Linked DNA regions of Homo sapiens: region 2 is linked to region 1. The links are contacts of gene promoters, found by promoter capture Hi-C in blood cells and fetal thymus (Javierre and others, 2016). All regions are on one chromosome and are shown on one strand. The core of a region is centred on a gene start or on the middle of the fragment in contact, and the rest is flanking DNA. Distances in the headings are between cores, read along the strand shown. Region 1 holds the start of SLC25A13 (solute carrier family 25 member 13). Region 2 overlaps LMTK2 (lemur tyrosine kinase 2).

Region 1 (2,700 bases), core at 151-2,650:
GAAACTCAGAGTAATTACAGAAAAGAGAAATGCCACTTAGACCACAGAAACTAACAACATGAAGAAGCCTACGGATTTGGGGAGCCTGGAGAGACTTAAGTCATAGAACAGCATTTAAATATATTTGTCTGCTTACAATTTCCATTGCAAATGTGATTAGTTTGCTTGAATAAATAGGAATATGATGTGTTGGCCATGTTTTCCTCTTGAGGGTTATCACAGAGTTTTGATTAAGGACAAATGTTTGAAATGTTAGGTATATTTAAGTTCACTGCACTTAAAATGAGCTAAGAAGTTGTATAGGCTTGATTAGAGGGCTGCCTTCGTGAACTTAAATTAAAAGCAATAAATTCCAAATGATTCAAGTGATTGGGACTAAATATGGTATTCTGCCAGAGAAGTTGAAATGCAGTCCAAAGAGACTGAAATGGTGTCCAGGTTTCAAGAAATGGTGAAAGAGGAAAGGTCAAGTGTTGGAGTTGCCTTTCCTCTGGGTTAGTGAATGATTCACATTACACAGAACCCCTTTCAAGTACAACTTCACAGGAGTGACAGGCTCCCAGGACAATCTGTTTCATCGTTCCCAAAAAGAAGCCTCTCAAATGCTCCGAGGCGGGTATCTAAGTGTTGTCAGATGGAGAGAGGGAGGGGGAAGATGGGAATGATGGGAAAGCGGGGAGGGGGAGAGTCCCTGGACTTTTTATTCACAAAGGCGCAGACCAAGTCTCCTAGGCAGTTTCCAAAACGGAAGTCAAAGTAACTTCCCCACCCGCGGGAGGGCGGAGCCCTTGAAACGTAATAGGATCAGGCTTCAGCCCGGGCTCTGGCCCCTGGAAGAAGCCGGAGTCAACAACCAGCGGGGTCAGGAGCAGGAGCGCGCTGGGAAGGTAGAGAGGACCCCCAGCGCTTGCCGGCCCAGGGTGCACCAGGCCCCAGTCGCGCCCGCTCCTCCTCGTCGGCCCTGGCTCAGCCCCGTCAGGCACCAACTTCCCTCCCCGGCCAAGTGGGAGTGTCCGGCCCACAAAGTTTCCGCTGCGAGGTCGGGCCTCGGTCTCTGCACCGACCGCCTGTGCTGCCCGGGAGGAGTGGCCCCCTCCCTCCAGCAGCCGCAAGGTGGAACGGCTGCCCGGCACCCCATTTTGCTCCGCCTGTGGCACCAACCCAGACACGTGAGCGCCCGAGCCTCTCGCACCCCCAGGCTGATCCGGCAGGCGCGCTCCCCCCGGCCTCGGGCCCGCGGTTACCTTGGCGGCCGCCATGATTCGCCCCGGTTGCGGGCGACTGCGGGACCCACTGACTGGCTGGCTGGCGTTTGGGACCCGGGCGGCTCACTTCTAGTCCCGGCGGCGGCGGCGGTGGGGGCGGCGATACGGCCAGGCAGCGTGCGTTCCTGGCCTGCCTCCCCACGCCCTCCCGCCGGCGCGGGTCATGTGGATGCTGCCCGCCCATTGGCTGGGCCCAGCCTTGGCCGCCGGGGTGCGCGTGATCCAGCGGCCTCTGCCCTGCAGCCGGGGAGGGCTCAGATCCTGGGGCAGTGGCTGGACAGGGACACGTGACCCCGCTGCGCTGTCCAGCAGCGGCGGCCTCTGCGGCGTGGGCAGAGGTAACTTGGCCGTGTGCAAGCCCGTCACCTGAGGGCAGGTGGCCCCACCAGGGAAGCTGCTGGCTTCTGCTGATACCAGGGGCTACTGGGCCCTCGGACCGATGGGAGGGGCAAGTAACGACAGATGGTGCACGGCCTGGGGAAGTTGAGAACTCCACTAGGACACATACTTTGCTGGATATTTTTTCCCCTGTGCGTTCCCTTTGAAGGAGCTCCACTTTACACTGGATCCAAAAAGACTTTGATCCAAAAGCATTGACTTAGAAGGCGAGATTGCAAATATTGCTGGCACGCCTACTTTTAGATCAAAATCGGTGAACTCTTAAGAACCCAACAAGTGAATGTAGTGCAGAACGTATATTCATGAAACTACTCCATTTCAGCCCTACCTGTTAAAACGGTAGAAGTCAAAAGGCCCGGGTCAAAAGACTTCCCCCAAATAGGCCCTACTAAAATAAATAAACAAGCATTTTAATGAAAATTTGCTTATATGACCTCCAGGCCTTACTCCTCTTCATCAGGATTTCATTCTTCTGTCCTTGTAATCAAAATTTATAAGACAGTGGTGATCAGGGAAAAGGACTTTTAATGTATTGTAGGTTGTGGATGTAATATGGCAGCAAAAAGCACTTATTACTAATCAGTTTAATTCATTAACGTTGATTGAGTGCCTTCCTACTATGTGCTAGGCACTGTGCTTGGTGCTGGAAACCCCGAAATGACTTAAGAACTGGTTCCAACCGTTAAACAGCTTCAGGGCTATTGGGAAAGAGACACATAAATGTTTACTTCAGTATAACCTGTTAAGGCAGCAGACTGTTCCCAGGGCTCAATAAGAATACTGAGAATTCTCATGCCACTATGAAGAAATACCTGAGACTGGGTAATTTATAAACCAAAAGATTTAATTGACTCAGTTTCGCATGGTTTGGGAGACCTCAGGAAACTTACAGTTGTGGTGGAAGGCACCTCTTTACAGGGTTGCAGGAGAGAGAATGAGTGCCAAGCAAAGGGGGGAAAGCCCCTTGTAAAACCATCAGATCTCATAAGAACTCACTATCACAAGAACAGCATGGGAGTAACCGCCCCCATGATTC
Region 2 (2,700 bases), core at 28-2,527, 1.8 Mb after region 1:
TGTTTTTCTAGGTTATTTAGGGTCTGTCCTACATGGGAAGTAAGGAGCAGACATTTAGGCCACTTCTCCCATCTTTCAGCTGTATTGTGCAGAAGTTGGATTGACGAAGTGTTGTGAATCTAGTACTGCCATTGACTCGCCTGCACATCTCTGCAGACGTACATGGGAAGTTGTGTGACAAAACAGAATATCCTTCCCCTAGACGTTGGTGGTCCACTGCAGGGATGGTTGTGGGGTTGAGCCCTGGGAATCTGGCTCTGAGTCTCTCCTTCTGGGACTAGATGCTTCCCGTTCCTGCATCGGCTTCCGGAGTGTGGAACCACCATTCAAAGCTGTTAAAGACATGGAAGTGCCGTGGATGACGCCATAGCTCAGCTCTGCCAGCAACTTAACCAAGGTTCCAGTTCCGGAATATCCAGCCTTTCATTTCTTGGGGTGTGGGGGCCCAGTCATCTGGCAGAAGTCATTCAAGCCCGACATTCTTTTGGCCACACCGTGCTGCCTTAGATGAGCTTTTCTGTAGTAGTCTCCATCCTAGTTAGTGTTTTAAAATGGGAATGAAATGGCACTTTGATAACAAATTTTAGTGGAATAGTCTGAGAGAAACCAGCAGCTTCGTATAAAATGATCTCATTCACAGGTATTTAATTAGCACTCAAATTATATAACCTTTCTGCAAGTGTGAGGGAGCAGTTGGGCTGGCTGACCTTGAAAATCACTTTTGAACAGAGGAACTCTTCCCTGTCTGTGATTAGCACACAGAGCGATCTGTTTCTCTAGGCTGTTGAGATTCTGGCTTAGGGTCTTTGTGGTATCTCTGATTCATGAACGAGATCATCAGTGCACTCTTTACTGTTGTGTGTGACTGAGTATATTTACTGCCACGCTTCATTTCCCTTTTCCTTTCCTATATTAGAATACCTGAGGGAGATTCTAGGTTATTTAATGTTCTTATAAATAGATATATTGTTATATTATGGCAAAGAAAACACTTTGTGACTTAAAATTCTGTGTACAGGAAACCTTGATGATAGATGGGTTTGTAAGTTTGAGGCGTTAAATAAAAATGTGTGATCTGCAATAATTGTTCAGATTTTTTTCCCCAAGTAGTGTGATGATGATTCATTTTATTAAGTCTCTGGGCTGCAGTGCTACTTGTCAGGGTGTTAGAAGAGGAAGACAGGCTTAGTGGTCCTAACGTGCTAGGAGAAAAAGGCCCAAACGATGTGTTTTAGAGATGGGCTTTATGTTGGGCCCATTTGGAAGGTTGCTGGCCCTTAGCTTCCCTCAGTTCTATGAGTTTTCTTTGTCTAACCTTTGTCTAAGTAGCCACCATTGTTAATTTTCAAGTAGGCACAGAATTCTCCTATGCAAATTCCCTGAGGCAAGAGGGTCTGGGCAAAACAGAAAACAGGCGAGATGTGTAAGGACCTGGCCCTTGCTTTACACTTGCTTTTCCAGTTAGAAGGCAGGATGCCCTCATGCCTGTGTCTGTGCTGTCAAGGATGGACCCCTGCCAGTGGGATTGGCTTTCTTCAATTAATGCATGGACCAAGTATATGTTAAAATAACTAAAGGAGTGGAATTGGAGTGTTGCTAACACAAAGAAATGATCGATGCCTGAGGTGACGGACACCCCAAATACCCTGATGTGGTTATTACACTTTGTATGCCTGTATCAGAGCGTCACACATACGCCATAAATATATACACCTATTTGTACACTTAAAAATAAAAAATTAAGGCTGGGCATGGTGGCTCATGCCTGTAATCCCAGCACTTTGGGAGGCCAAGGTGGGTGGATCACCTAAGATCAGGAGTTTGAGATTAGCCTGGCCAAGATGGCGAAACCCCGTCTCTACTAAAAAATACAAAAATTAGCTGGGTGCGGTAGCAGGTGCCTATAATACCAGCTACTTGGGAGGCTGAGGCAGGAGAATCGCTTGAACCCGGGAGGTGGAGGTTGCAGTGAGCCAAGATCGCGCCACTGTGCTCCAGCCTGGGAGACAGAGCAAGACTCCATCTCTAAATAAATAAATAAGTAAATAAATAATTAAAAAGGTGAAAAGATTAGTAAATTGACACAGTGCTAGGGGCTGAGTTTTACCCCTCCATGTACCTCAAACTATAACTGTATTTGGAGATAGGCCTTTTAAACAGGTGAGTCCTGAGGGCGGGCCGTAGTCCATTCTCACTGTTGTCCTTGTAAAATGGGGAACTTTAGACACACACAGAGACACCAGGGATGCACACGGAAGAAAGCCCCTTTGAGAATGCAGGGAGAAGGCTGCTGTCCACAGGCCAAGGAGAGAGGCCTCAGGAGAAACCAGCCCTGCCGACACCTAGTCCTCTAGGACTGTGAGAAAGTCAAGTTCTGCTGTTGAAACCCCCAGCCTGTAGTATTTTGTTTTAGCAGCCCTAGCAAACTGATACGCGCAGTGTTCAGACTAAAACAAATTTAAATCACATCTTAGATGGCACCAATTAAGATTCCTGTTTTGTTCCTAAACACACGTTGGCATAGAGGTCCGAGGGCTGTGGCTCTGCCCGTGTGTGGGGCTTTCTTCTGAGTCCTGTGCTCCAGGGGCTCCCTGGGGAAGAGGCTGCCTTTGGATTCTCGCTTTGCCTGCACTGAGTAGAATGCACTGATGGCCTCCAGTAAGATGAGGCTGTGCGAGAACATGGTGCGTGTGGGTAAAC

Evidence for each region. The method cuts DNA at HindIII sites, captures the fragments that hold promoters and counts their contacts. A CHiCAGO score of 5 or more calls a contact.
Region 2: a contact is called between a fragment that was not itself captured here and the fragment with the promoter of SLC25A13 in region 1, in 3 of 17 cell types (neutrophils, monocytes and M2 macrophages). The highest score is 9.1, in neutrophils.

What each region holds. Positions count from the first base shown.
Region 1 is chr7:96,320,698-96,323,397 of GRCh38, forward strand. It overlaps SLC25A13 (solute carrier family 25 member 13), which reads right to left and starts at 1,401. Exons shown (of 18, transcript NM_014251.3): 1 at 1,245-1,401. The coding sequence starts at 1,259. RefSeq lists a silencer at 1,197-1,536. The HindIII fragment of the contact is 9,010 bases long and covers 1-2,700 here.
Region 2 is chr7:98,126,118-98,128,817 of GRCh38, forward strand. The region is part of intron 1 of LMTK2 (lemur tyrosine kinase 2); the gene reads left to right. Among named protein-coding and RNA genes, the nearest start is that of LMTK2, 21 kb to the left of the region's middle. The HindIII fragment of the contact is 7,179 bases long and covers 1-2,700 here.